Linked DNA regions of Homo sapiens: all the other regions are linked to region 1. Evidence: promoter capture Hi-C in human tissues and cell types (Jung and others, 2019). All regions are on one chromosome and are shown on one strand. The core of a region is centred on a gene start or on the middle of the fragment in contact, and the rest is flanking DNA. Distances in the headings are between cores, read along the strand shown.

Region 1 (6,211 bases), core at 3,712-6,211:
TGCTTAACTTTTAAAATTTACATTCCCTCATTTCCAAAAAGGGATTATAATTCACTGTTATTTTGATAATTGAGATAAATGTACGTACAAGTGCTTTGAAACTGTAAAGTGCATTATAAACAGAGGGATTTACCATAGAGGTTCTACCTTGATGTATCAAGAGAAGCCTTTTCTGGAATCTGGTGCAGCCTTGTGAGATGCTGTTAGGTAAGGGGACTCCTTGGTAGAATTTCTTACATTTGTGTAAAAAGTTCTGGTTCCTGAGTAATTCCAAAGAAGATGCTATGAGGAGTTCACTGTGCCTTTGATTTGATCCCAATGGGTCAGAATATGTTTTCTCATTCAGTAGGCTACTACAGGATTTGAAGTAGAAAAAACAGGGTCCAGTGACCTTCACGGGATCCTAGATGTTCATGAATTTCAATCATTTGAGATTGTGGGGTGTGGTCCAATGCTGCTCTCAAAAAGATGTTGCCTTTCTTCAGAGAGCATTAATAACTAAAAAATCCCCTGGTCCAAATTTATTGTGTGTCTCTGAAGGCTTTAACTGAAGAAATGAAATGCACACTCATGGAACAAACTAGGCCTTTGTTGTGATAAAACAGCTTTAGCTATTTGGCTTGAGGACTCTGACTTCACTATAAAGGGCTGTGCTGAATCTGGGTAGAACAAGACAGGAGTGGAGGTAAAGGCCACATCATGATGGCTGAATGCCTCCTGGGTCACAGTGGTCCACTGGAATGGGTGTCTTCGTCAGTAGTAAGGTGGTAGGAATCATCTCGGGCAAAAATCCAGGTACCAGGTCTGTAGGCTGATGGAATAGCACAGGGAAGGTAGTCAGAAGGTCCAGGTGAACACTCAGCAATCAGGAGGCACAGGACTAGAAGGGGCAGGGACAAAACAGGTAAAATAACAAATGCATGGAATTACAAACACAGGACTCTAAGTGGGTCTGCTGTCAGCACATCGGCAGCCTGATGGCTGTTAATTCTTGATGAGCCTGGCTTAGGCAAAGACAAATGATAAATGAAAACAAACAACAGCAATCCAAAAAAGAAAACACAAAAGTCTGATTAACACTCTCGATTTGTGGGAACTGTCTCGCGAAGCAGCACACAGAAACTAAGCCTTATACTTTAGGAGAGTAATTTGATCGGATTCAGGGTACTGGGCATTTTTTGGTGAGGAGAGGAAGTGGCTCCACAAGTGCCATAAAAAGAACTGAGATTTTAAGTTTATATACCAACAATAAAACAAAGGAGACATTGCCCCTCTTCCTCTTCCAATGCCTTCCTCAAACTGTCTTATGACCTTCTCCTTTTAAAAAGCTGTCCTTTCATCTTAACAAGATTCCATCTTAAGTAGGAGAAAATAAGGTCTTGGTCCTTCTGTATGTAATACCCCATCATTCAACATATTGGTTTCTCCTTATGTCTGAGGGCTCCCTAGATCAAAATTTAGAATTAAAAAACATTAAAACATAAACATGATCCATATCTAGCGACTTTTCTCCTCATTAAGAGTAATGTAAGTTATCACATAGCAATTAAGAAAACACTTACTGAGTGGTTATTCTGATAGCCTGCTCTCTAAACTCCTCCTTCCTAATAAATGCATCTTGATATGTTGTGGTGTATGTGGGCAAAGATGCACTAAACAAGGACCCTGCTTTCAAGGAGTCTGCTATCTGCAAAGACAGTAAATGCAGGCAAGTAACTATTTTACAGGATTTTGTATACAGATAGAGGATACATAACGAAATGTCATAAAACTTTAAAGCTCTATTCTGGCTAGTTAGGAGACTCATGGAAAAGAGGGCATAAGAGTTGGATACTGAGAAAATGGCAGTTTTGACAGATGAAAAGCCACAGAGCAGCAGTTCCAAAGTAGAATGAGAGTATGAACAAAAGTGCAGAGATGGTAAAGGATAAGGCATTTTGGAAAATGGCAAGTACCATAATTCACTTTGGATGGAGCATCCTCAGTTTGCACTGAGGGTCTGGACAGAAACTCAGGTCTTCTAATTCCCAGTAACAGTGCTGGTGGTAGTGCTTGCTCAGTCGTTGTCTCTTTTCTCACAGCAAGGTCAACAGTCCCAAAATTCAAAAATAAAAAAAAATCTACCTCCAGTGTTCCTGCCGCATCGTGACAAGCTCTTTCGGGTTCCAGGTCCAGGTCTTGAAAATCTGGAAATCTGGAGTCCATGGCTGTGGCTACACTGAAAGTTATCTGCTCCAACTATTGCAGAACACTGTAGTGAAATCTTTTCAACCTCCAATCCTGGACATCTCATGTTTTGCCACAGAATTTCAAGCTTTGAGTTCCAGTTGTTTTTTTTCCCTCCTTTCTGCTGAGGAAAGCATCTTATCACCACAGTCTTAAGTCTTTTGAGGTACATCCGGATTTAATTACAAAAGAGCAAAAAGACCAACACTTTTTTTTCTCCAAGTCATTTCTCTGGAAGTGAGATTATCTGTCTCTGCCCTTTAGGAAAAGGGAATAGTCAATTGATTTTTTCAGACATTTGAATGAAATAGCATAACTGGCTAACATCTAATCAGACAAAATACACTTAAATGTGTTTGTGTTCACTTGCTTAGGGCTGTACCACTTGGTGAGCACCACTCCACAAAACGAAAATGTTTGAAATCCAATTGTTCAAACATTTTTATAGTGTTTGTTGGATAATGGCCTGAAATTTGATAAAAGCAGCTGACAACTAACAAAGAAGCAAAAACTGGCATCTTGGACATCCTAGTATTACACTTGCAAGCAATTAGAACACAAGGAGGGCCAAGGAAAAAGTTTAGCTTTGAATCACTTCCAAATCTACTGATTTTGAGGTTCCGCAGTAGTTCTAACAAAACTTTTCAGACAATGTTAACTTTCGATTAAGAAAGAAAAAAACCCCAAACATCTTCAGGAATTCCATGCCAGGTTCAGTCTCTTCCAGTGAGCCCGCTTGCTAAAAGTCCACGTGCACCATTAATTAGCTGGGCTGGCAGCACCATGTAAAAAGAAGCCTATTCACCACCAACCACACAGCCTAGACATGTAAAGTAGGATCAAGTAATGGATGACAACCATGGTCGTGGAATATGGTCAATGAGAGTCAGAAAAGTACAGGCACCAGTACAAGCAGCAGATAACAGAGTTGACGGGCCAAAGGATAAAATAGGCTTATTTAAATAGGATGCTACAGAACACATCCACTCCTAATTGTAGCTGCTTTACACTGGGTGCCATTGTACCATATGCATCAGCCACCCTTCAGGCACCCCATGGTGAAAGAAAAGGATTCAGAATAGAAGCCAAGCAGGGGACTGTTGTTAACCCCGAATATCCATTATGCATAGAAACAGCTCACATATCCCAGGGACTCAAACAGGGCTTCAAAATGGTTGTGAAGGGTCCCAAATGACATCTAGGCCTCAGTTTCCTCTCTGTAGCATGAAGAAATTGTGATTCTTAACTCTTCTGGGTCACAGCCCCCTTGGAAAACTTGCTAGCGATGGATCATCATTCCCCTAAAACGCACATTCCCACAAATTCCCATCATTCCCCCAAACCGCACATTCCCACAATTTCAGGAAGTTTGGGGATCCCCAACTCCAATCCAAGGTTCCCAGGTTCAAAACCCAAGGATTGGGGAACTGCTAAGTTTTCTTACAACTCAAAAAAAATTATAAACAATAACCATCCTTTACGTACACCCACGCTTTATAGTTTACAAAGCGATTTCAACCCCACACACATTGATAGGCAGAGGAGGAAACTGAGGCGCAGACAAATTACAGAGTGACTCGCCTAAGGTCACTCCGCCAACTGGTGGCTAGGCCCGGAAGAAAACCCAGCTCTTCCGACTCCGGAGCTCGTCTCCCCACCCCGGGGCTGCCGCCAGAGCTCCCGCCCCTCACTAAGGCGGCATAAGGAGGAAAAGGCAAAGTAGAAATCCCACAACCAACCATCCTCCGGCCCCCTCCTGCCCCCCCAACTGGGTCCTTGCAGGCCCCGAAGGGTGGCGCCAGGCCTCCAAGCCGGCCCCGGCCACCCCCGCCTCCCCGGCCGCTCCAAATCCCGCGGCCGCTGCCGCCGCCGCCTCCCCCGGAGCGGGGCGGAGCAGCTGCCCGCCGCCGCCGACCACCCGGACGACTCCTCGTCGAATCGCAAACGCATAGGCCGCCGCCCGAGTTCTGCGTACGAGAAGAAAGACGCGGCGCGAGCGCCAACGGCCACCGGGCGCGCGCCGCGGCGGCCGGGCCTGCGCCCCAAGAGCTGGATGCCAGAGCAGGAGAAAGAGCCGCCAACCGATCGCTCGATCGACCGCACGCCCGTTCCTTCGCCCTACCAGACCCGGGAGGGGGGGAGGGCGCGCCAGGGCTTCTTCGATTTAGGGGCCTGACTCCCCGGCGACGAGACAAGATGGCTCCTCCGGTCCGCACCGCAGCTACCGTCCCGGCTGCGTCGCTCGGCCCGCCCCCGGTACTGTTTCTTTAAATGGCGGAGAGGGTCAGGAAAGCAGGAAGAGAGGCGCACGCTGTCACGTGACAGGGGCGGGACCGGCCAACCAAGATCCGGTCACATGGGGACACGCAGCCCGCCAATCAGGAGGCTGTACATCAGGGCGGGGGCGGGAGGAGCTGCAGCTTTGTGATTGGCTGAATGCTCCGCGGAGGCCTCGGGGGCTTGGGGCGTCGGGGAGTGTGCGAGGTGGCCGGGGCTGTGTGCACTATCGGAGACAAAGCGGTGGCTGTGGTGTCTGTGACGGCGGCGGCAGAGCAGCTCTAAACGCCGAATTTCGTGTTGCTGAATCCTGTCACCATCTCAACTAGCGCGGCGCGCGGGCGGCGCGCGGGCGGCGGCGGAGGCAGCGGCGGCGGCGGCGGAGGCGGCAGCAGCACATGGTTCCAAGAGCGCTCTGCGGCTGTTGGGTTCCAATTCCGCGGGGAGGGACAAAGGCAGTTGTGAGATCCGGGTAGTGCCCGGTCAGGTGGTGCGCTCGCCACTGCCCTCGATCCGGTCCTTGGAAGCCGGGAGTAGCTCCTCTTCGTGGGGAGGCGGCCACGGGACCGAGGCCCGGGAAGGGCCTGGGAGGCTGAGGCTGTTGTCTGAGGGACGTGGGGGCGGGGCGCGGCCTGCCCGAGGTGCTGTGGGCGGGTCATTTGTGAGGTGTTTATGTGGGCCAAGTGTGAGGTAATCTGACCACCACCCTGAACTGGGTTTGGTCCGGCTTTGAAAAAAGAAATCGTGAGTGCCTAGGAGCTTTTTCACTTGGGAGGTGGTGAAGCTGCAACTTGCGCCATATAACACTCCGTCGACATCTTGGTCTCCGGTCTTGGGCCTGTTTAAGAATCCTGGCATCACGTGTGGCGAAGACATGGCTGATCAGTTTTCTGACAGAAGTGGGTAAATTTCCGCGTTGGTAAATTTCCTGACAGGAAATTTCGGGGAACCAAAAAAGGCTGGAAGAACATGAAGATGGAGCAGTCATAAACCACCCACTCAAGGACCATCTCCTTCAGGACCATCCACACGAGACTCAGATTGTCTGAATTGAGCTATCGCAACTTAATGCTAAAAGCTCCTTAAAGCTACAGATTTATGACATAGTTCCTTCCAAAATATTACATCATAAATCATTGAGAAGATTAAAAAAAAACACTTGAAGAAATTGTAGTTTTAAACATCTCTGCATATATTTTGGATAGCTACTAGGTTACTTTAACTGTCATTAAGGAGCACAGACTTACTGAAGCTTTACTGGACAGAATCCTGGGAAATCGATATCATTATAAGGTTATATTTCCCAGTTAGCGGGTGAAGGGCTGGAGACCTTATTGCAGTCATGGCTTTCACAAATTACAGCAGTCTGAATCGAGCTCAGCTAACCTTTGAATATCTGCACACAAATTCGTAAGTATCCTCTAGGTGCCACTGAGGTAACCAGTAACTCGTTCCTTGATATTATATGGAAATCGTTTCCCCAGAAAATTTTGCTTTTTCACTTTTTGAGATGTATCCCACTGGAGTGAAATGTGTCACTGGATATCTTGAGCTCTGTATTGAAGAACTGAGATCAGTGAAATACTTGTTGCTAATCCAGAAGAATCTGATTTTTGTTTATTGGATCAAAATTTTCTAAATGCAAACTTTAGTTATTTGAAGTCAATATGTTGAGTTGTTTCATTCAAGTGTTTATAGGAATCCAACA
Region 2 (6,211 bases), core at 1,862-4,361, 240 kb after region 1:
GGTGGTGTGTAGCTGTAATTCCAGCTACTCGGGAGGCTGAGGCATGAAAATCACTTGAACCTGGGAGGCAGAGGTTGCAGTGAGCTGAGATCGTGCCACCACACTCCAGTCTGGGCAACAGAGAGAGACTCTGACTCAAAATAAATAAATAAATAATAATTTTTTAAAAATACCAAAAATTAGCTGGGCATGGTGGTGCACACCTGTATTCCCAGCTACTCGGGAGGCTGAGGCACAAGAACTGCTCAAACTTGGGAGAAGGAGGTTGCAGTGAGACGAGATCATGCCACTGCACTCCAGCCTGGTCAACAGAGTGAGATGAGACTCTGTCTCTAAAAGAAAAAAAGAAGAAGAAGAAGAAGAAGAATCGCTTCAGCCATAATAATATGAAAAGTATTTAATATAAATAGGTTTAGGATTCTCAAAGATAAAGAATAACATCAGTAAAAGGGGGATAGGCTGGGGAGCAGTGGCTCACGCCTGTAATTCCAGCACTTTGGGAGGGTGAAGTGGGAGATCACTTGAGGCCAGGAGATCACGACCAGTCTCGGCAACATGGTGAAACCCTGTCTTTACAGAAACCACAAAAATTAGCCAGGCATTCCAGCCTGGGTGACAGAGTTAAGACCCTGTCTCAAAAAAAAAAAAAAAAAAAAAAGAGAGAGAAGAGAAGAAAAAAGAAGAAGAAACAATTTAATGAAATAGAAGTTGATAAAAATGAAACAAGAGCAGGTAGATATGAATAAGTAACATGAGCACTTCAGAAAATGAAAATATAGCAGATTAGTTTTTCTAGTCACCCAGCATCCAAATCTAAATTGATCCTTTACTCATTCTAGTTAGTGTTACTTTTTATTAAGGGTTTTATTTTATTTTTGAAATAGAGTCTCACTCTGTTGCCCAGGCTGGAGTGCAATGGTGCAATCATAGCTCACTGCAGCCTTGAACTCCTGCGCTCAAACAATCCTCCTGTCTCAGCCTCCCAAGTAACTGGGACCATAGGCATGTGCCACCATGCCAGCTAATTTTTTTTTGTTTTTGGTAGAGACAAGGTCTCACTATGTTGCCTAGGCTGGTCTTGAACTCCTGAGCTCAAGTTATCCTCCCACCTTGGCTTTCCAAAGTGCTAGGATTATAGGCATGAGCCACCAACCACACCCAGCCTCTTACTTTAACTTTTCAGTTTTATCTTTCTACATTATTTGGAAGGAATTATACAGTGAAATATATAAATGTGGGGGCTAACAACCCTTAAAATTATCAAGATCTGATACATTTGCTAGTCTTAGAATTTAGCTCTGCTCTTCTCTTTCATTTAGATATTTTATGTTCAATCCATTTTTAACCTGTAGCCAAGGTATTATTTTTACCTTTTTTATTCAGTTTTAAAAATTTTTCAATGGCTTCAAACTCAGTCCTGAAAGGGTCTAAAATTTAGGGATGTATCCTAAAATCCAGATTGTTGTTTAGGAGTAGTGCACCTGCTCATGTTGTAAATAAATGATTTTGTTTCTCCCACTGTGAGTCCTGGCTGAGGTAACCCTCTCTATGAAGGTTAAGCTTCCAGGGAAGTCCAATAGTCCAGACAGTGGCAAAGTTAAAGCCCTGCTCACAGTACACTATAGACCTGGGCCCTGCAAGCTGCAGTGGTAACTCCTCTCCCGCAAGAGGCTATGGAGGTGTGCAATATTCCAGAACCATCTGGTCTCACTGAGCCCTAAGCAGCTTCAGTGGCCTCACTACCAGCCATGATCTAAGGCCTCCCAGTTTCATCAGGGCTCATATCCAAAATACATGATAATGTGGCCAGGCATGATGGCTCATGCCTATAATCCCAGCACTGAGGCAGGCAGATCACTTGAGGCCAGGAGTTCGAGACCAGCCTGGCCAACATGGTGAAACCCCGTCTCTACTAAAAATACAAAAATTAAATGGGCCTGGTGGTGCATGTCTGTAATCCCAGCTACTCAGGAGGCTGAGGCAGGAGAGTCGTTTGAACCCAAGAGGTGATGGTTGCAGTGAATGGAGATCACACCACTGCACTCTAGCCTGGGTGACAGAGCTAAACTCCGTCTCAAAAAAAAAATGATAATGTATTTTCTGCCACTTTTAAGGAGACATGTTTTGAGGCATTACTTTGATATCTGATTTAGAACAAATATAAACAAAATACTAAACATCTGCAGTACAATTTAACTGCAAGAGAATTTACCACAACCAACATCCCACTAAGTTAACTACACCGATTCTCAACAAAATAATACTCGCAATGACCCCAGTCACACTCTCACCTCTGTCAAGGATTCCAGCAATCAGAACTTGGAAGCCTGTAGTAGTTAATGCATTGCTTTTTAGGCCATGGAGACCATCTATGGTTAGCGACTTACATAGTTGTATTGGACCCAAACCTTGTACATCAACTAAGAATGGTGCACCTCCTCCGTCCCCTCTCTCTCTCCTCCATTTAAGCCAAGTCGCCCCTGCATTTTTGGGCTTGGGAGTAGTACTGCATCTCAGAGTATGCAATCTGGTTTCCTGAGTGGTCACCGACAAGCTGGATTTTTGCAACCCACAGTATGGAAGGGTTAGTGACTCACAGGTTAAACAATGAGCAGTGGGAAATGGGAAGTGGATGGAAACCAGGCCAGGAAATGCTCTTCATTTATCCCCCCTGCAGATCTCTCCAAGGTATCTTTGCAAACCTTCCAGAGAAGTCCATGAGCCCAGAGAACATGAGTGGCCTCTGTGAGCCTTACAGTTTGCTGCAAAGCAGTGGCGAGGTCTTGAAGCCTCATGTTACTTTGCATCCTCCCCTTGCTTTCCTTCCTCTTTTGCCTCCCCAGCACCAAGGCTCATCTCGCGGCTCCACTGAGTGCCCGATCTACCAGCAGTAGAAACCAACACGGAACCCTCCTTGATATGGCCCATCCTTGGGAAGAGCCAGACAGCCACTAACTATATCAGACCCCTTCCACCTTGGAGGGATACACAATTTATCCTTCATGAAACGGAAGTGCTTTTTGGTAATGAGGTTGCCTTCCCTGCCTGTAGTGCCTCCAGCAGCACCATGGTCCAAAGTTACTGAATGCCTCGTGTGCTGGCCTGGACTTCCATTCGATACAGCCTTATACAAAGTGGCCCATTTCAGCCTAGCAGCTGTGCCAGTGACTCCTGGCCATAAATTCACTGGAATCACAGGAACCCAGCTGCACTAGGGGGCAGCGAGCCTGACAAAACAATGGAATGGCCTACTGGCTTAGCGGGGACACCGAGGGAGAAATACCCCTCAGGTTTGAGCCTCTGTCCTCCAGGATGCCTTGAGCTGACAACTGATATCTGGTGCCATGTCCCCCACAGCTACAGCAGACAGGTCCAGGAGTGGCCCTGCTCACCATCACGCATGGTTGCCCTTTGCAAGGTGTGTGCTTCCCATCCTCACACACTTGGGATCAGCTGGGTTAGAGGATCTAGTCCTGGGGTAAGGGAGGAATGTGAAACAAAGATTCCACTGATCTGGACACTGCCACAACCACTTGGCCACCTACGGCTCCTCATGCCAGTGACCAACAAAGAGGGGAGTGACTCTACTGCCAGGGGAGTGACTCTACTGCCAGGGGAGTGACTCTACCGCCAGGGGTCACTGATCCTAATTGCCATGAGGAATTAGGTGAGTGGCCCATTTGGAAATGGGAGGAGAATGTCTGGAATAAAACCCAGAGGACTCCTTGGGATATCTCTTATTTTTATTTATTTATTTATTTTTTGAGACAGAGTTTCACTCTTGTTGCCCAGGCTGGAGTGCAATGGCGCTATCTCGGCTTTCTGCAACCTCCGCCTCCCAGGTTCAAGTGATTCTCCTGTCTCAGCCTCCCGAGTAGCTGGGACTATAGGCACCCGTCACCACGCCCAGCTAATTTTTGTATTTTTAGTAGAGATGGGGTTTCACCATGTTAGTGAGGCTGGTCTTGAACCCCTGACCTCAGGTGATCTTTCCACCTTGGCCTCCCAAAGTGCTGGGATTACAGGCATGAGCCACTGTGCCTAGCACCGGTATCTCTTAACATTTCCATGATTGGTAACGGCTGATAATGAGCAAGGCCAACAACACATGCAGACCACTCAGCGCAAACATCACAGACCAGCCAGAGTGCTGGCGGAGAGTGGAGAGGGTCTAGGGTGGGTAGTGCAGGAGGGAAATGATGAGTAACAATGAGCACACCAGGACCGGCCACAGCAGCAGCAGATGACCTTGTTTCACAACCTTCTTGCTTTATTCTTCCTGGTAACCCCAGTGGGCCAGCACCAGGAAATGGCTTCTGTCACTGATGGGATTTGTACCTTCCTGCTCAGGGAAGGAATGAGGATGTTTTTGTTCTCCAAGGAAAACGGAGATTCCCACATTGAAGTAGGAGAGCTGATATCATGGGAGGGCACGAGCAGACCTGAGTAGCGCAAGGTGTGGACTGTATTGGACACAAACCTTGTGCGCCTTCTCAGATTCCCTCGACCACCTCCTTCTTTGTCTCTCTCGATGATGCCTCATCCAGGTCACGCCGTACCTCCACTTCTGGGCTTGTATGAAATGCCACCGTGGAAAATAGGATATGAAAAGAACAGGTCAGATGAATCTCCCCCCACTCTTCCCTCCACGGATGGCTCTGAGGTGTATTTTCTTCTTGTGTAAGTTCTGGAAAAGTCCATGTGCCAGGCAAGCATGCTTGCTGAGCGACCCACCGTGTCTCTGTAGCTCGCTGTGAAGTCTCATCCAGCAAGGGAATGAGCTGGGTGGTCACTTTGATCTCTCCTCTGCCACTTGCCATTGCTCCTTCACTGCCCTGGGATTGCACCTCCCAAAGTGTCAGCTCTTTATTTTTCATTTATTTATTTATTTATTTGAGATGGAGTCTCACTCTGCCGCCCAGGCTGGAGTGCAGTGGCGCGATCTCGGCTCACTGCAACCTCCACCTCCTGGGTTCAAGCGATTCTCCTCCCTCAGCCTCCCGAGTAGCTGGGACTATAGGCGCCCGCCACCACGCCTGGCTAATTTTTTGCATCTTTAGTAAAGACAGGGTTTCACAGTGTTAGTCAGGATGGTCTCGATCTCCTGACCTCGTGATCCACCTGCCTCGGCCACCCAAAGTGCTGGGATTACAGGCGTGAGGCACCGCGCCCGGCCAGCATTAGCTCTTTAATCCCTGCCTTGGGCTATGTTTTCCAGAAGCCCTTCCCCAAAAATGTCCATGGGAAAAAAAAAAAAAATTATATATATATATATATATATATATATATATATAGAGAGAGAGAGAGAGAGAGAGAGAGAGAGAGAGAGAGAGAGAGAGAGAGAGAGAGAGACAGGGCAGCGAATCTGAATCCAGATGCACAGAAAGACCAAAAGCTACCACTCTGGAGCAAAGTACTTAGTCTTATATGGAACTTCCATTCAATGCAAGCTCAAGGTGACCCTGATTCACTGTGAAATTCCCATCCAACCTTCTGCATTCTAATTCAGCAAGCACTTCCTGTGGGCTACTATATAAAGGAACTGTGCTAGAAACTGGGGAGGGAGTAGATACAAAAATAAATACGACACATCTTTCTGGCCTCAATGGTCTAGCTTGGGAAGGACACAGGCCTGTAAATGACAAGCCACTGTTTGTTAACAATAAGTGGGGGGAAATAAATTCAAAATAAGGGAGGTGCTCACTCCATGAAAATTCACTAGCTACATCCTCGTAATTGACCAGTTTTTCTGCATGTATGTTATACTTTTATACTTTATAAAAATTGGCTTTAAAAGCAAACTCCAGGCTGGGTGCGGTGGCTCGCGCCTGTAATCCCAGGACTTCGGGAGGCCGAGGTCGTCAAATCACTTGAAGTCAGGAGTTTGAGACTAGCCTGGGAAACATGGTGAAATCCCGTCTCTACTAAAAATACAAAAATTAGTCAGGCATGGTGGCATGCGCCTGTAGTCCCAGCTACTTGGAAGGCTGAGACACGAGAATCGCTTGAACCTGGGAGGCAGAGGTTGCAGTGAGCCGAGCGAGATTGTGCCACTGCACTCCAGCCTGGGTGACAGAGGGAGACTCCATCTCAAAAAAAAACCCCAAAAAACAAAAAAACCCAGAAATTTATTATCTCACACTTCTGGAGGCTAGAAACCCATAATCAACGTGTTGAAGTCCACAAGAGCTGAAGTCCACGAGAGCCTGGC
Region 3 (6,211 bases), core at 2,933-5,432, 220 kb before region 1:
GGCCATAACATCTGACTCCAACATTAATCTTGCAATGTCATTCTAAACTGAGTGGAGAATAACCCCAAATCATGGCAGATCTCCACTGGCAAGTTCCCTTAAAGACTCTAGGGGAGAAGTGGAGGTGAATGAATGACCCTCAGGGGAAAGTCAGGCTTTATAACAACGACCATTCCTCCCATTTATTAAGCAACGATAGTCATGTATCACTGAACGACAGGGATAATTCTGAGAAATGTGTCATTAGGCAATTTCATCATTGTGAGCATCACAGAGTGTACTTACACAAACCTAGCTGAAATAGCTTACTACACACCTAGGCTACATAGTATAGCCTATTGCTCCTAAGCTACAAACCTGAATAGCATGTGAGTATCATAGGTAACTGTAACAGAGTGGTAAATATTTGTGTATTTAAACATACCTAACATAGAGCCAAGGTGTGGTGGCTCATGCCTGTAATCCCAGCACTTTGGGAGCTGAGGTGGGCAGATTATTTGAGGTCAGGAGTTCGAGACCAGCCTGGCCAACATGGTGAAACCCCATCTCTATTAAAAATACAAAAACTAGCCATGTGTGGTGGCACATGCCTGTAATCCCAGCTACATAGGAGGCTGAAGCACGAGAATCACTTGAACCTGGGAGGTGGAGGTTGCAGTGAGCTGAGATCGTGCTACTCAATCTGGAGTGCTACTGCACTCCAGCATGGGTGACGCAGTGAGACTCCATCTCAAAAAAAACCAAAAACCAGGCTGGGCGTGGTGGCTCACGCCTGTAATCCCAGCACTTTGGAAGGCTGAGGCGGTTGGATCACCTGAGATCAGGAGTTCAAGACCAGCCTGGCCAACATGGTAAAACCCCGTCTCTACTAAAAATACAAAAATTAGTCAGGTGTGGTGGCACGTATGTGTAATCCCAGCTTCTCGGGAGGCTGAAGCAGGAGAATCGTTTGAACCTGGGAGGCAGAGGTTGCAGTGAGCCAAGATCACGCCACTGCACTCCAGCCTGGGCAACAGAGTGAGACTCCTCAAAAAAACAACAAACAAACAAACAAAAAATCCAACATACCTAACACAGAAAAGGTAACGCACTGCTCTATAACATTTTAAAATCACTAGATTATAGGAACTTTTCAGGTCCATCATCATCTTATGGAACCGCTGTTGGATATGTAATCCATTGTTGACCAAAATGTCATTATGTACTGCATGACTGTACTGTGTGCCACGCTGTGGCTGAATACCTTTTCATTTCTTAATGTCACTGGACGGTCACATTAACCTATGAGGCAGTACCATCATCTCCATCTTACAGATGAGGAAACCAAAGTACAGGGAAGCTAGCAGATTTGCTCAGGGATGCACCATCCAGACTGGAAGCATCTGTTTCATTTTAGAGTCTGTGTTCTTTCCAATGGCATTCTGCCTTTAAAAAAAAAATTGATAGCAGGCATGGTGGCTCACACCAGTAATCCCAGCACTATGGGAGGCCGAGGCGGGCAGATAACGAGGTCAGAAGATCGAGACCATCCTGGCCAACATGGTGAAAACCTCTCTCTACTAAAAATACAAAAATTAGCTGGGTGCACCTGTAATCCCAGCTACCCGGGAGGCTGAGGCAGGAGAATTGCTTGAACTTGGGAGGCAGAGATTGCAGTGAGCCGAGATTGTGCCACTGCACTCCAGCCTGGTGACAAAGCAAGACTTCGTCTCTAAAAAAAAAAAAAAAAATTTGACACAGGGCCAGGCATGGTGGCTCACGCCTGTAATCCTAGCACTTTGGGAGGTCGGGGTGGGCAGATCACTTGAGGTGAGGAGTTTGAAACCAGCTTGGCCAGCATGGCGAAGCCCCATCTCTACTAAAAATACAAAAAGAAAATTAGCCGGGCGTGGTGGTGCATTCCTGCAGTCCCAGCTACTTGGGAGGCTGAGACAGGAGAACCACTTGAGCCCAGGAGGCAGAGGTTGCAAGTGAGCCAAGACTGCACCACTGTACTCCAGCCTGGGCAAGAGAGCAAGGCTGTCTCCACAAAAAAAAAAAAAAAAAAAAAAAAAAAGATATACAACAGCTGTACATTTAAATATATGTATAGTTAATATATACATAAAATACATAATTTATAATCTTAAAATTTATAATTATAAAATTTAATAAATACATACACAAACACAAACACACACACACACACACACACACACACATTTTTTTTTTGAGACAGAGTCTTGCTCCATCACCCAGGCTGGAGTGCAGTGGCGCGATCTCAGCTCGCTGCAAGCTCTGCCTCCCGGGTTCACGCCATTCTCCTGCCTCAGCCTCCCCAGCAGCTGGGACTACAGGTGCACTCCACCACACCCGGCTAATTTTTTTTTTTTTTTTTTTTTAGTAGAAACGGGTTTCACCGTGTTAGCCAGGATGGTCTCGATCTCCTGACCTTGTGATCCGCCCACCTTGGCCTCCCAAAGTGCTGGGATTACAGGCGTGAGCCACCGCGCCCAGCCCAGAATATATATATATTTTTAAGAGACAGGGTCTCTCTCTGTCGCCTAGACTGGAGTGCAGTGATACAATCATAGCTCACTGTAGCCTCGAATTCCTGGGCTCAAGCCTTCCTCCCACCTCAGTCTCCCGAGTAGCTAGGACTACAGGTACCGCCACCATGCCTGACTAGTTTTAAACATAGTGGGGCCTCACTATGTTGCCCAGACTCATCTTGCACTCCTGGGCTCAAGTGATCCTCCCACCATGGCCTCTCAAAGTGTTTGGATTACAGGTGTGAGCCACTGAGCCCAGCCATAATAGCTGTACACATTTTTTATGTTATATGTGATAATTTGATACATTCACATAATCAAATCAGGGGTATCCTGTCTTTGAATTCTTAATTTTGTCAATCATTTCAAGTCCTGGTTTTACGATACCCTGAAGTATCCTGAATTTCTAGGAGAATGTGGATCACAACAGCTTTTACACAAGATGGTAATTAGGGCAAGAGCCTCAAGAACAAAAATCTCTGCTCCATTCTATTTATTCACCAATAAATTGATGTTTTACGCTGTTGCCAACTTAAAATCCCTTAAATATTGTTTAAACGGCCTTTTCTTCACACGATTTCTCTGCTCAAAAATATTCATTACCTCTATGTCCCTTTAGTCGAATCTGGGTTTGATAATCTGGCTCAACACTACTGTAACCATTATTTTTCCTAACACTCCCAGACCCTCATCCAGAGTGCTGTGAGAGGTATACAGTAGCCTCAAGGGTCTCAGATGAGTCCAACAGTGCATGTGCCTGTCCCTAGAAACTCCCTGCCTTGGAGTGACACACACACCCTTCGCCTTTACCTAGCATTTTTTGATCGACCTTTCAAGGTTCAGCTCAAAATCTCAAGACAAAAAAAAACACACACACACACACAAAAAACCAAAATCCGACCTTCACCTAGCACCTAGGTTCTCAGAGCCAGAAAGGGCTCCTGTAACCGTCAAGGCTGGAACAGACACCGACCTTGACACTTCATTTTGATGAGTGTATCTATCTATATATAAACATAAAATATAGTAACAATTATAGTCATAGCTAACACATAGTATTTACTGCAAGCTATGTGCTCTTCTAAGCCTTTTACATATTTTGAGTCATTTAATGCTTGCAAACGACCCTGTAAAATGAGGCAGAATGTGTGTAAGTACCTTGTCCAAGGTCAAACAGGAAGGTGGCAGAGTCAAGCTTCAAAAGGAGGAAGCCCAGTTCCACAGTCCTTGCTTATAACCATTATGCTATACTGCCTCTAGGCTCAGCACAGCAAGTAGCAGGTAGTAAGTGCTCACTAAATGGTAAGTATTATTACTTTAGAGATGGGGAGAACGAGCTTAGAGTGGAGACAGGATTTGCCCAAGGTCATCCAGCTCATTGGTAGCAGAGCTGGGATGGGAACTCAGGTCTCTTGTCCCTTGAGCCTGAGTGTATTCCCAAAGTGAGCAGGAAGCATTCTGCTCCAAACCACCCAGGGCCACAGGCTTTCCAAACTTGGCAATGTGCTCTCTGGGGTGGAAGTAGGGGTACTGACCAGAAGAGGTGGCCACACAGGCTGATGACGGCATCCTTGGCTGTGTCCAAGCAGATGTTGCACTCGAAAGTGCTGTCCTGCCCTCCGCTCTCGCCAGCGCCATTGCTGCTCCCACTGGGCCCCCCTGCACTGGAGTTCTCAGGAGATGCAGAGGCCGAGGGCCCCTTGCTTGCCATCCTTGGCTGTCAGCGAAGCTCTGAGTGAAGACTTTCCCCAGGGAAATCCTAAAAGGCAGAGAACTCTTGACTGTCCATTTCTGCAGCCCTCTCCCCCCAGCTTCCATGCCAACATTCCTGTCTTCTCTAGGCTCCAGAGCTGATTATGACTGAATCCCTGAGCAGACTTCCCAAAGCGCTACAGAAGACAAGAGTTGTAGGGCACTACCCAAAGGGCAGTGACCCAGAAACTTCTCATGAATATGGTCCAGAATATATCACACAGATACGCAAACTCCACCAAATACAGAGCAGCCTCCAGATGGTTCTCCACAGGAACCAGGACCTTGTCTCACTTGTCTTTAGATTCCCCCATGACAATCAACCCAGGTGACAAATACATGCTACATTAAATGGAATGTTCAGGCTGTCCAGCCTCTATATTGATGGGTGAATCTGCTGAGGCAGGAAGGTTGTGATTGTCATATGCCAGAACATATATATATATTTTTAAGAGATGGAGTTTCACTCTGTCGCCCAGGCTGGAGTGCAGTGGCACAATCTTGGCTCACTGCAACCTCTGCCTCCCAGGTTCAAGTGATTCTCCTGCCTCAGCCTCCCGAGTAGCTGGGATTACAGGTGCCTGCCACCACACCTGGCTAATTTTTGTATTTTTAGTAGAGATGGGGTTTCATCATGTTGGCCAGGCTGGTCTTGAACTCCTGACCTCAGGTGATCCACCTGCCTCAGTTTCCCAAAGTGCTAGGATTACAGGTGTGAGCCACTGTGCCCAGCCCATACGCCAGAATATTAAGAAATTCCTGTAACTATGAAAGGATAGGAAGCTAATAAGGACCAGAAAGATCATCTGGTCCAAGGTCTTCCATATTGCAATCTTTTTCAATCCTCCTTCTGCCACATTGGAATACTATTCACCTTATTTTATCTAAATATATCAACTTTTTAGCCTCAGTACATTTAAAGAAGAGGTTTATGTCACTGTAATAAATGGAAAACCAGTAATACTTACCATAAGTAAAAAGGTTAATATAAAAGTAACAAATGAAAAGTTTACCCTCATACCACCTGACATCACCTGGCACACTCATACTATGTTTTGGACAATCTTGATCTGGTCCAATTTCTTTAGGAAACTGCAGTTACCTTGGCTAGCTGACTAATGTGGGGCTGAGACTGGGACTCATGGACACCCTGTTTGCACCGTACCACTACATACTAAACTGGCCACTAAATGCTGGTATAAACAGACCACTGTTGACCACCACCTCCAAGTCAAAGAACCCAGCCAGGAGTTGAACAAGAAAGAGGATAAAACCAACACCAAGGGATACCCAGGAATTCTGGATGCACATTAACAATCTGTCAGGAGCCTTATCTGGCCACCCTCATCACCTCAGAAATTCCAAGTAGGAAATGTTCGCTGGCTACCACAGTCAGAGAAGTGGAGGCCTGGATACTGGACTCAGCCTCTAGCTTGCTAGGTGGTTCTGGGAACCTCCCTTTCCCTCTACTGATCATAATTTTCTCATCTGTAAAATGAGGCACTGGACTCCCTGGTGTCCTGGGTGGCCCCCTCCAGCTCTTAGACTGTGCCTCTCCAGGTCATCTTAACCTACTGTTACCTCCAAAACAAGCGGCCCCTTCACAAATTTAGGACTTACCACTGGAACACCAGAAGGTCACCCTGATGTCAGCTTCCAGAGTATGAGAAGACAAGGACCAAAAAAGTTACAGCCTTCTCAGACCCAGAAAGCTTCCTGCCTTCACACGGTGGACTCAGAGCTCTGGCCTCATGAGTATCCCTCACCACGATACCAGCTCAGTGACTTGAGCAGAGAGAGGAGGCCAGCTCACCACTTTTTCACTCAGTTACATCATTTTACATAATGTCCCAGAAGGGTAGCTGGATGCTGGTGGCACCAGTTTCGTGCGCTGGCCTCGGCTCCAAGACCTTCTCTCTGACCTTCCT
Region 4 (6,211 bases), core at 2,482-4,981, 210 kb after region 1:
TGGGAGGCGGAGGTGGGCAGATCACTTGAGGTCAGGAGTTCAAGACCAGCCTGGACAACATGGTGAAACCCATCTCTACTAAAAACACAAAAATTAGCCAGGCATGGTGGCACAAGCCTGTAATCCCAGCTACTGGGGAGGCTGAGGCAGGAGAATCGTCTGAACCCGGGAGGTGGAGGTTGCAGTGAGCTGAGATCGTACCACTGCACTCCAGCCTGGGCAACAGAGCAAGACTCCATTTCAAAAATAAATAAATAAAAATAAAAAATAAAAATGGGGGAGGGCCGGGTGTCTCACACCTGTAATCCAGCACTTTGGGAGGCCGAGGCAGGAAAATTGCCTGAGCCCAGCAGTTTGAGACCAGCATGGGCAACACGGTGAGGCCCTGTCTCTATAAAAAAAATTTAAATTAAATTAAAACAAATAAAAATTAAAATGGGGGTCCCTAGGTGCCATATGACCATCGGATCTGAATCTCAGTGGTCCTGCCCTAGGAATCTGCAGTTTTAACATGCTCCCCCAGGAAGACTTCATGTCCCTCAAAGTAAGAGAGAAGTTATTCAGTTTTCTTTTCTTGTGTTGTTTAATCCATACCAGTCAAATTTTCACTCAAGTGAGTTCATAAGAGAGTTCTTTATACTGTCTGGCCAGCTGGGAGGATGGGGCTTCTCTCCTCCTCAGGACTGAGGGGTCTGAGGGTCAATAGCTTGAATGCACCTATATTTTCCCTTTGTTCTAAGGAGAGCATAACCCTGTTCCCATCCATCTTCTTAGGGAGTGAGGACAGAGGCAGTGGCCACAGAAGAACCTGGATCAGTATCTGCAGGCATTCTCCAAGCCCTAAGGAATGTCTCCCCCAACAAGTAAGAAACACTGTGCTTTGTGAAGTCATTCCTTCAAACGGGAAGAGAGGACTGTTAAGTGGACCAAGCCCACTTGCATCCCCAGGCACACAGGCAGCAGGGTTCCCGAGAGCTGTTTACAGAGCCAGAACAACGCCACACTCCCTGGGAATTTATTTCCACCTCAGTGGGATCACACCCAACAGGAACAGGAGGAAATTCTTCCAAGTCCTACCTGTTAGAGGATTTTCATTTTGGAGCAATAGGGTGGCAGGCTGTCCAGGTATTCTTTAGGGCCAGCCTCTAGGGCCACCAGCCACCCAACCCCCTCCTCATCCCCGCCCACCCCACTCTACTGCCTGCTCTAGTTGCTCTAAGGGCAGAGCCTGGGCTGCCTGGGATAATTCCAAGTGCTGGGCTGTGATATCAGAATAGAGTTATGACATCAATGGAGGGTAGGCGAGCCTAGGGGAGGCGAGAACCGGGGAGCCCCTGAGGCGCTAGGCTAGCCCCCCAGAAGTGAAGGCCCAAGAGGGAGGTGGCCAGCTCTGTATCGGTTTCTTACAAACCTGAACATCAGAAAATGACTCACAGGTACGGAGAGATTTGTTGCAAGCCAGCCAACCTGCTGGTGCTTCCCTAGACACTGAGTTACAGAAAAGAAAGCGAACAAGCCATCTTCTAGCGCCCCCCTGTGTCAAGTAAAAGGATACTATCTCTTTTCTGACTTGGAGGTTTGCCTTTGGACCAGGGAGTTGGGAGCAGAGACCCCAAGTGGGCTGGGGGTCAAGGTCCCCCAGGATAGGGTTAAATGCTCGTAGATAAAATGCAGGATGCCCAGTTACATTTGAATTTCAGACACACAATAAATAAATTTTAGTATATAGACTGCCCAAATATTGCATGAGACATCCTTATACTAAAATATTATTCGTTTTGTATTTGAAGCTCAAATTAAACTGGGTGACCTGTGGGTTTTTTTTTTTTTTTCTGTCACTCTGTTGCCCAGGCTGGAGAGCAGTGGCTCAATCTCGGCTCACTGCAACCTCCACCTCCTGGGTTCAAGCAATTCTCCTGCCTCAGCCTCCCAAGTAGCTGGGATTAGAGGCATGCACCACCACACCTGGATAATTTTTGTATTTTCAGTAGAAACAGGTTTCACCATGTTGGCCAGGCTGGTCTTGAACTTCTGACCTCAAGTGATCTGTCCACTTCAGCCTCCCAAAGTGTTGGGATTACAGGCGTAAGCCACTGCACCCGGCCAACCTGTGTTTGTATATTTTGAATCTGCCAATCCCACTCAAGGAGCTTTTGAAAAAAAATACAAATACCCTCTGCACCCAAAAGTCATTCTCATTCTGTTTTAGCAGGGCAGGGGACTTCTTGGGAACCTGTATTATTTTAAAGCTGCGAAAGTGACTATCAATAACTGCAGCTTACTTTAGTCGAGTGTTTGCCAAGCCGTGTGCCAAGATCTCTTCACACATTATCTAAACTAATCCTCACAGCACCTCTAAGAGTTGGTTCTATCATGAAACCCATTTTACAAAGGAGAGAAATGATGCAAAAGACGGCAAGCAACTTGTCCAAGGTCACACAGTGGGTAAGTGTGGGAGCCACGATTTGAACCCAGGCAGGCTGGCTCCAGCATCTCTGCTTCCACTGACTTAGAAATCTTTGATTGAAGGGACCCTGGGAAGCACAGAATTGAAGCTTCTAGGGGACTGACAAGCGGGGACTCTGAGGCTCTAGGAAGCCCATGCTCAGACTAACTGCTACGCTACCATGCTCGAGGGGCTGAGCCAAGGAGCAAACACCTGGGAGCAAACATCTGGCCCAGGCAGGAGGCTGGCTCAGAGAAGGCTTTCCTGAATGGCCTCTCCCTGGAGGGTAAACAGACTTGAGGAAAATAGGGTGTGGGAAGGGGCTGGATACTAGGGAACAGACCTTGCCAACAAGAGGTACAGCATTCACGCTGGCTGGCAGCAAGATGGTGTGCCAGTGAAGACAGCAGAAGCTGGATGGGTCTAGAGCGCAAGAGGAGCCAGAGAAGAGACATAAATCAAAATTGCATTTTTTTTTTTTGGAGACGGAGTCTTGCTCTGTTGCCCAGGCTGGAGTGCAGTGGTGCAATCTCAGCTCACTGCAAGCTCTGCCTCCTGGGTTCACCCCCTGCCTCAGCCTCCCGAGTAGCTGGGACTACAGGCGCCCGCCACCACGCCCGGCTAATTTTTTGTATTTTCAGTGGAGACAGGGTTACACCGTGTTAGCCAGGATGTCTCGATCTCCTGACCTCGTGGTCCACCCGCCTTGGCCTCCCAAAGTGCTGAGATTACAGGCGTGAGCCACCGCGCCCGGCCCAAAATTGCATTTTATTTTTATTTTATTTTTTATTTTTTATTTTTTGAGATGGAGTCTCACTCTGTCACCCAGGCTGGAGTGCAGTAGTGTAATCTCGGTTCACTGAAACCTCTGCTTCCCAGGTTCAAATGATTCTCTCCTGACTCAGCCTCCAAATAGCTGAGACTACAGTTGCACACCACTATGCCTGGCTAATATTTCTATTTTGGGTAGAGATGGAGTTTCGCCATATCGCCCAGGCTGGTCTCGAACTCCTGGGCTCAAGTGATCCACCCGCCTCGGCCTCCCAAACTGCTGGGAGTATTATAGTTGTATGGTTTACATTTTGAGTTAAATTTTATATAAATAAGAAGTATAAATCAAGATTCATTTTATTGCATATGGATGTCCAATTGTTCCAACACTACTTGTTGAAAAGACTAACCTTTCTCAATTAAATTGTTTCTGCACCTCTGTCAAAAGCCATCTGACCATATTTGTCTGGGCCCATTTCTGGACTCTCCATTCTGTTCCATTAATGTATATGTCTATCTCATTAATCTATATAGTGTTTGCCAACATCACACTGTCTTGTTTCTTTATGATAAGTCTTAAAATTGAGTAATTACTCCACCTTTATTCTTCTTTTTCAAAGTTGCTTTAGCTAGTCTAATTTCTTTATCTTTTCATATAAATGTATAATAAGTTTGTCTATGCTGAGAAAATGTCCTGCTGGGATTTTTTTTGGAATTGCATTCAAGCTACTGATCAGTCAAGGGAAAACTGACGTCTTTACTCTCTTGAATCTTCTGATCCATGAGCATTGTATGTCTCTCCATTTATTTTGGTCTTCTATTTCATCAGTATTTAACACTATTTACATATAGATACTATATTTGTTTTGTTATAATTATATCTAAGTATTTCATGGGGTCATTGTAAGTGATTTTTAAAAATTTTTTGTTACCAATTGTTCATTGCTAATACACAGAAATATGACTGGCCTTTATGTACTGACCTTGTATTCTGTGACCTTGTTAAACTCACTCTAAAAATATTTTTGTAGATTTCCTGGGATTTTTCTACACAGCCATCATGTCGCTTGCAAATAGGGATAGCTCTGTTTCTTTCTTCCCAATCTGAGTGCCTTTGACTTCTTTTTTCTTGCATTATAATACTGGCTAGTATTAGGATGAATATGAGGGGTGAGCATGGACATCCTTGACTTTACTGATCCTAGGCGGAAAGTAAAGCATTCAGTCTTCTATCACTACATATGATGTCAGTTTCTTGAAGATGCCCTTAATCAGGTGGAGGAGTCTCCTAGTTTGCTGAGAGTTTTTACCATGAATAATGTTAAATTTTGTCAAATGCCTTTTTCTGTATCAATTGATATTATAATGTAGTTTTTCTTAGATTGTTAATATTATGATTCCATTTATATTGATTTTCTTTTTTTTTTCTTTTTTTGAGACAGAGTCTTGCTCTGTTGCCCAGGCTGGGGTGCAGTGGTGCGATCTCCACTCACTGCAACCTCCGCCCTGCCAGGGTTCAAGCGATTCTCCTGACTCAGCCTCCTAAGTAGCTGAGACTACAGGTGTGCACCACCATGCCTGGCTAATTTTTGTATTTTCAGTAGAGACAGGGTTTCACCATGTTGGCCAAGCTGCTCTTGAACTCCTGACTTCAAGTGATCTGCCTGCATTGGCCTTCCAAAGTGCTGGGATTACAGGTGTGAGCCACTGCCCCCAGCCCCATTTATTGATTTTCAAACATGGAACCTATCTTGCACCTATCTTGCACTCATCTTGCACTCCTAGCATGAAATCCACTTGATCATGGTGTAATATTCTATTGTATTGCTGGTTTCAAATTGTTAATATTTTGTTGAAGATGTTTTCATCTATGCTCATGAGAAATATTGGTCCGAAGTTTTCTTTTCTTACACTATCTTTGTTCAGTTTGGTATCAGGGTATGCTGTCCTTATAAATGAGTTAGAAATTACTCACTCCTGTAATCCTAGCACTTTGGGAGGCCAAGGCGAGCAGATCACTTGAGGTCAGGAGTTTGAGACCAGCCTGGGCAACAGTGCAAGACTCTGTCTCAAAAAAAAAAAAAAAGCCGGGTGCAGTGGCTCACGCCTGTAATCCCAGCACTTTGGGAGACCAAGGCAGGCGGATCACCTGATGTCAGTAGTTCAGGATGACCCTGGCCAACATGGTGAAACCCTGTCTCTACTAAAAATACAAAAAAAAAAATTAGCTGGGCGTGGTGGCACATGCCTGTAATCCCAGCTACTAAGGAGGCTGAGGGAGGAGAACTGCTTGAACCTGGGAGGCAGAGGTTGCAGTGAGCCAAGACTGCACCACTGCACACTCCAGCCTGGGCAACAGAGCGAGACACTGTCTCAAAAAAAAAAGAAAAGAAAAATTAAAAAAGAAAAGAAATTACTCATTCCTCTTCTGTTTTCTGGAAGAGATTGTGTGGAAATAGTGTTATTCTTTTTTCAAATATTTGATAAAATTTACCTGTGAAATCATGTAGGCCTGAAGACTTCTTTTTTGAAGTGTTTTAAACTATGAATGCAACTTCTTTAATAGTTATAGGATTATTCAGTTTATGGATTTGATCTTGGGCAAGTGTTAGAATTTGATTTTTGAAGAATTGGTTCATTTCATCCAAGTTGTCAAATTTGTCAGCAGAGTTGTCTGTAGCATTCCTTTTATGTATTATGTATCTATTTTATGTTTTTGTAGTATTGTCCTTTTATGTTTGTTAGTGCTATTAATTGTTTATTTCATTCCTGATGTTGGTAATTTGATATTTTCATTTTAGCAGTCTATCAAATAAGTTGGGTTAAGGCCACAGGTAGTGACCAGCCGTCTCTGGGTGGTGGTTTCACTGTTTGTTCCATTTTCAAAGCCTTTGCAGTACTATTTGTTTTTGTTTTTGAGACAGAGTCTTGCTCTGGAGTGCAGTGGTGCAATCTCGGCTCACTGCAAGCTCTGCCTCCCAGGCTCAAGCGATT
Region 5 (6,211 bases), core at 1,598-4,097, 180 kb after region 1:
CATAAGAGGAAGAGAGAAGAGAGAACAGGTTCAGAAGCAGTTTTGGACGAAATAAAGGTGATGAATTTTTCCCAAATATGGTGAAAGACATTAACCCACAGATTCAAGAAGCTCAATGAGACCCAAAAAGGAGAAACAAAACAAAATCTTACCTATACACATCATAGTCAAAGCCCTGAAGACCAAAGATAGAAAATCTTAGGTCAGGCCCAGTGGCTTACACCTGTAACCCCAGCACTTTGGGAGGCTGAGGCAGGAGGATTACTTGAGCTCAGGTGCTCAAGACCAGCCTGGGAAGACGATGAGATCCCATCTCTACAAAAAAATTTAAAACATCACCTGGGTGCAGTGGTGTGTACCTGTAGTCCCAGCTACTTGGGAGGCTGAGGCAGGGGAATCACTTGAACTGGGAGGTGGAGGTTGCAGTGAGCAGAGATTGCGCCACTGCACTCCAGCCTGGGTGACAGAGCGAGACTCTGTCTCAAAAAAAAAAAAAAGTAGTTATATAAATATTGATTGCTTAAAACAATAACAATTATGCTTTGTGGAATGTATACATGTATGAATAAAACATAAAATAACAATAATACGAAAAGTAACGGGAATTTTTTTTTTTTGAGACGGTCTCACTGTGTTGCCCAGGCTGGAGTGCAGTGATGCAATCTCGGCTCACTGCAACTTCCACCTCCCGGGTTTAGGTGATCCTTCCACCTCAGCCTCCTGGAAGATATTTAACTGTTGTTAGCTTCTTAAATTGTCTGGGAAGTAGCAAATTAATAACTTAAAGTAGATTATAATATATCAAATATTCATATTATAATCTCCTTCATTAAAAAAAGAAGGTACAGGGTGGGCGTGGTGGCTCACGCCTGTAATCCCAGCACTTTGGGAGGCTGAGGCGGGCGGATCACTCGAGGTCAGGAGTTCAAGACCAGCCTGACCAACATGGTGAAACCCTGTCTCTACTAAAAATATAAAAATTAGTCGGACATGATGTCGGGCGCCTGTCATCTCAGCTACTCAGGAGGCTGAGGCAGGAGAATCACTGGAACCCACCGGGAGGCGGAGGTTGCAATGAGTCGAGATCGTGCCACTGCACCCCAGCCTAGGCGACAGAGTGAGACTCCGTCTCAAAAAAAAAAAAAAAAATGAATAGAGGAGGAGAGAATAAGATAATTTTATTTATTTTTTAAATTATTAAAAAACATTTTTTTTAGAGACCAGGTCTCACTATGTTGCCCAGGCTGGTCTTGAACTCCTGGGCTCAAGTGATCTTCCTGCCTTGGCCTCCCAAAGTGCTTGGATTATAGGCGTGAGCCACCATGCCTGGCTTGAAGTAATTTTTAAGTGCTTGCTTAATAATTTTAAAAATGAGATAGAAGGATGTCCATGTTATGGCATGTGTCAGAATTTCCTTCCTTTTAAAAGCTGAATAATATTCCAGTGTATGGATGTACCACATTTTGTTTATCCATTCATCATAAATGAACACTTGGGTTGCATCCACCTTTGGGCTACTGTGAATAATGCTGTATGAACATGGGTGTACAACTTAGACCACTTTTTCTTAGAGATAGGGTCTTACTCTGTAGTCCAGACTGGAATGCAGTGGTGCAACCATAGCTCACTGCAGCCTCAAACTCCTGGGCTCAGCCTCCCAAATGACTAGGACTATAGGTGTGCACCACCACGTGGGTCTAATTTTTTATTTTTTTATTTTTTGAGACAAGGTCTGGCTCTGGGACTATAGGAGCATACCACCATGCCTAGTTAATTTTTGTATTTTTTTGCAGAGATGGGGTTTTGTCATGTTGCCCAGGCTGGTCTTGAACTGGTAAGCTCAAGTGATCCTCCCACCTTGGCCTCCCAAAGTGTTGGGATTACAGGCATGAGTCACCGTGCACAGCCTAGTTTTTTTGTAGAGATGTTTGTTACCCAGGTTGGTCTTGAACTCCTGTCCTCAAGCAATCGTCCAGCCTCAGCCTCCCAAAGTGCTGGGATTACTGGTGTGAACCAGTGTACCCAGACCTAAATCCTCTTTTTTCCCAGGCTGGAGTGCAGTGGTGTGATCTCAGCTCACTGCAACCTCCACCTCCTGAGTTCAAGTGATTCTCCTGCCTCAGCCTCCTGAGTAGCTGGGATTACAGGCACCTGCCACCACACCTGGCTAGTTTTTGTATTTTTAGTAGAGATGGGTTTTCACCATGTTGACCAGGCTGGTCTTGAACTCCTGACCTCAAGTGATCCGCCCACCTTAGCCTCCCAAAGTGTTGGGATTACAGGCGTGAGCCACCGCACCCGGCTCCTAAATCCTTTTTCAAGTCAACCTTTTAGCTGAACTACAATCTAATTTACTCTTATCTTCAGTTTTGAGACAATGTGGTGGACTGGATGGAGCAGAAAACCTGGAATCAGATAGTCTTGGATTAAAATCCAGGCTCTGCCATTTACTAACTCAGTGATTGTGGACAAGTCACTTGGAAGATGACCCATAATGCATGTAAACATGCCAGGCACACAGTAGGCACACATAGTGGTGATTATTAACATTACTCACATGAGCTCAGACCACCTCCCCAGTGTTAGGCTGGCTGGGGAATATGAGAGACTGTGGCCCTCACAGTGCTGGTGTGGAAGACCGGAGGCTTGTGCTTTTCATAGGGTTCACTTTCTCCCGAAGAGACAAGACAAACCAAAACTTGTAAGAGCTGCCAATCAACTTTTATCTCTATAAAACATGTTGCCAACCAATGATAATTGGCCGAAGAGTACAGTTCATTTTGCTTGAGAATATTACTTCTATTCATCTGACTTTAATTGCCATATGCTGGTGGCAAGACCAGATTATGAATGATTCATGCATAGACACAATGACTAATTAAACCCTAAAGAGACTATTCATTAAAAAGTATAAATGCAAACTTTTTACCCGTGGGCCTGTAAGTAGATGTCTGCAGGAAGCATTTACAGGAAGGTTTATAACCTCAGTTTCTTCTGTAAACAATACTGCAGATGGTGGATGAAAAAAATACTTGTATTCATAAACTATTTCTTATCATGCAAACCATAGTGATTGATAATTCTTTTTTTTTTTTTGAGACAGTAGAGTCTCGCTCTGTCGCCCAGGCTGGAGTGCAGTGGTGCGATCTCAATTCACTGCAAGCTCCACCTCCCGAGTTCAAGCAATTCTCCTGCCTTAGCCTCCTGAGTAGGTGGGATTACAGGCATGTGCCACCACACCTGGCTAATGTTTCGTATTTTTAGTAGAAACGGGGTTTCACCATGTTGGCTAGGCTGATCTTGAACTCCTGACCTCCAGTGATCCACCCATCTCAGCCTCCCAAAGTGCTGGGATTACAGGCATGAGCCACTGCACCTGGCCTGATTGAAACTTCTGTATGCGGTTCCTAAATACTTTGTTTTTTCCTGTTTTGATTATGATATTTTATCATAATCTCTCTGACTCTATATATTTGGTAATACTTATCTATATACCCATTGAGTGATAATAATCTGTATACCCACTGATGTGGGGGCAGAATAAGAGGGTTCTTAAACCATTTATTATAAAGGCTCCTGAAATCCCCACTGGCCTGGGTCTAGCCCTGAGAGATGATGATGACCTTCCTATCTTGCAGCTCTTCCTAGCTAAGACACTCTTCCATTCAACAATTCATTTTTCTCTATCCGCAAAGCAGAATTAAGATTGACAATGTATTTCACAAAACTGTGGCACGGATACATTAAAGAGACAGGACTGATTTTATTTAGAATGCCCCAATATGAGCGGGGCACGGTGGCTCTCGCCTGTAATCCCAGCACTTTGGGAGGCCGAGGCGGGCGGATCACTTCAGGTCAGGAGTTTGAGACCAGCCTGGCCAACATGGTGAAACTGTGTCTCTACTAAAAACACAAAAATTAGCCAGGTTTGGGGGCACACGCCTGTAATCCCAGCTACTCGGGAAGCTGAGGCACAAGAATCGCTTGAACCTGGGAGGTGGAGGTTGCAGTGAGCCGAGATCACACAACTGCACTCCAGCCTGGATGACAGAGCCAGACTCTGTCAAAAAAAAAAAAAAAAAAAAAAAAAGAAGAATCCCCCAATATATAAGCTCCTGCAGCCTGAAAAAGAGATGTGTTGGCTGGGCATGGTGGCTCACACCTGTAATCCCAACAGTGTGGGAGGCCTAGGCGGGTGGATCACATGAGGTCAGGAGTTCAAGATCATGGCCAACATGGTGAAACCCCGTCTCTTCTAAAAATACAAAATTAGCTGGGCATGGTGGTGGGCACTCAGCTACTTGGGAGGCTGAGGCAGGAGAATCATTTGAACCCAGGAGGCGGAAGTTGCCGTGAGCCGAGATCACACCACTGCACTCCAGCCTGGGTGACAAAACAAGAGAGAAACTCTGTCTCAAAAATAAATAAATAAATAAAAAATGAAAGAAAAATAAAAAGAGAAGTTTGAAACAGGGATCACATTGGCCTTGACTGTCCAAATCCTTCCAAGCAAGGAATTTAAAAACCAACAAATGAATCCTATTTCCCCTTCAGGGCAACCACGTGATTCGATGAAGCAAACATAGAGATACGGGAAGGAATATCCCTTAACGGATTTTTAAATTGTTCATCCAAAAGCTTATTGGTCCTGAAATGACCCTTAACCACATTTGTCAGTGGATTCTCAGTAAATTACCACATATCAAAAAAATTTCCTTTAACCTATAAAGTATGCTCCCTCTTTTTTTTTTTTTTTTTAATGCAGTTTGACATATCTCTTCAGGTTTGCTTTTGCATCTGGCTTACAGTCTTGCTGAAAAACTGCCTGGAAGCTACAGACACATGAGCAAGCAGCAGTAGAAACTGCCTTGGAGCAACCACATGTGTGTGCGCACACACACAATCTCTCCAAGTGCAGCTACCAAACTGAAGTCTCCTTGAATTCCCAAGACTAATGAGGAGCCTCTGGCTTTGTCCTCTTTCCCATGCCCCTCCAAATCCATCACGGATCATGTGTATGGAAACTAGAAGAGTGGCCAAAACCTCTACAAACTGGCTGATGTAGTTTCAAGCTGTCAAATCTTTTCTATGCTTTCCCCGCCCCCCCCTCCTTAAAAAGTGGGTCCACAGCAGTGCCATGTATTTTCATGTGGCTGCAGATTCAAAGTCTTTCCTGAACCCGGAATCCCTGTAGGCCAGGGCCAAAGGTGAAGCTTGAGAGGGCACAAAGAATAAGCCCTGTGCGTCATCCACATCACCTCCAGCCCAAGACACCCACACCCAATGGGCCACTCCAACAAAACCCATCTGCTGACCCAAGGGGCTGCATCCTCCTTCTGCAGCCCAGTCACCTTGTAGCACGGAGATGGGGTCACCCTCTCCCCTTGCACATTGCTTCTTTCAGATGATAGCCATTGTCACATGTATAGAGGGGTACACAAGAAACAACACATGTTTTCACCGAGATTCACATTCCTCTTACCCTCAAAGAGCATGGCACAAAATAAAATTAAACTGTGATCTAAAATGGGAACAAAGTTTTTACTGGTGGAAGATGCAAAGCTGTTGCAGACAAAGAATCTCAAGGGCAGACCCTCCTTCTTAGAGAGCATTTCTCCCTGCCTGTGCTCTTGGGGCTGGAATTGAAGTCTGTCCACCTTCTGGTCACTGGTACTGCCTTCTGGAAAGTCTGCACCCAAACCATCTCCAGCTAAACCATTTTCTTCCCTCTTAGGGTCCTCCAACAGCCTTGGAAGCCTAAAGAAATGCTTGTTCCAATGGGTGATCCATACACAGCTGTACCGGACTGTCCGTAGGCTCTTCCCGTTTTTTTCTGATTTTTATATGCTCTGTAAGTTAACTTCTCTTTTACAAGTATCTGAGTTTATGGGGTCAATGACGAGGAAATCACTCATTCACTTGTGTTAGCTGCAGGCTCCTGGAAATGGTGGAAAATTTGAACTTGTGTAGAGAAAGCAGACCGGAGCCCACTTCTAAAAGACAGCAGATTTCATGGCCTATGAAATCCTGGCTTCTGAATGCCCAGAGAATGTGGCCCCCACTTGCTTGCCAGATTCAGGCCCCCTCTCTCTTGTCAAGGTTGGACTTCTTCCCAGATCCTCTCTCCTACAACCTCGAGGCTGCATCTCAGAGACAACACAGTGAAGCCTCTGAGAGCCGTTGAGCACTGAAGTTCTTCTAAGAGGATGCA

Evidence for each region. Contacts are between HindIII fragments. The study calls those that stand out against the background at their distance.
Region 2: a fragment that was not itself captured here is called in contact with the fragment with the promoter of MORC2 in region 1 in 1 of the 25 tissues and cell types used here (thymus).
Region 3: a contact is called between a fragment that was not itself captured here and the fragment with the promoter of MORC2 in region 1, in 2 of the 25 tissues and cell types used here (IMR-90 fibroblasts and lymphoblastoid cells).
Region 4: a contact is called between a fragment that was not itself captured here and the fragment with the promoter of MORC2 in region 1, in 2 of the 25 tissues and cell types used here (liver and mesendoderm cells).
Region 5: a contact is called between a fragment that was not itself captured here and the fragment with the promoter of MORC2 in region 1, in 1 of the 25 tissues and cell types used here (dorsolateral prefrontal cortex).

Annotation. Positions count from the first base shown.
Region 1 is chr22:30,967,524-30,973,734 of GRCh38, reverse strand. It overlaps MORC2 (MORC family CW-type zinc finger 2), which reads left to right and starts at 4,961. Exons shown (of 26, transcript NM_001303256.3): 1 at 4,961-5,913. The coding sequence starts at 5,846. It overlaps TUG1 (taurine up-regulated 1), which reads right to left and starts at 4,470. Exons shown (of 3, transcript NM_001396518.1): 1 at 1,956-4,470; 2 at 148-880. The coding sequence starts at 4,378. The coding sequence ends at 3,917. RefSeq lists a silencer at 3,950-4,199 and an enhancer at 4,230-4,559. The HindIII fragment of the contact is 8,152 bases long and covers 921-6,211 here.
Region 2 is chr22:30,729,858-30,736,068 of GRCh38, reverse strand. The region is part of intron 1 of OSBP2 (oxysterol binding protein 2); the gene reads right to left. MIR3200 (microRNA 3200) reads right to left here and starts at 4,512; the gene lies at 4,428-4,512. The HindIII fragment of the contact is 9,479 bases long and covers 1-6,211 here.
Region 3 is chr22:31,185,126-31,191,336 of GRCh38, reverse strand. It overlaps RNF185 (ring finger protein 185), which reads right to left. Exons shown (of 7, transcript NM_152267.4): 2 at 4,067-4,290. The coding sequence starts at 4,242. Among named protein-coding and RNA genes, the nearest start is that of LIMK2, 24 kb to the left of the region's middle. The HindIII fragment of the contact is 6,585 bases long and covers 890-6,211 here.
Region 4 is chr22:30,759,259-30,765,469 of GRCh38, reverse strand. All of the region lies in intron 2 of OSBP2 (oxysterol binding protein 2), which reads right to left. Among named protein-coding and RNA genes, the nearest start is that of MIR3200, 31 kb to the right of the region's middle. RefSeq lists a silencer at 1,491-1,540. The HindIII fragment of the contact is 5,000 bases long and covers 1,232-6,211 here.
Region 5 is chr22:30,789,201-30,795,411 of GRCh38, reverse strand. The region is part of intron 2 of OSBP2 (oxysterol binding protein 2); the gene reads right to left. Among named protein-coding and RNA genes, the nearest start is that of MIR3200, 61 kb to the right of the region's middle. The HindIII fragment of the contact is 4,158 bases long and covers 769-4,926 here.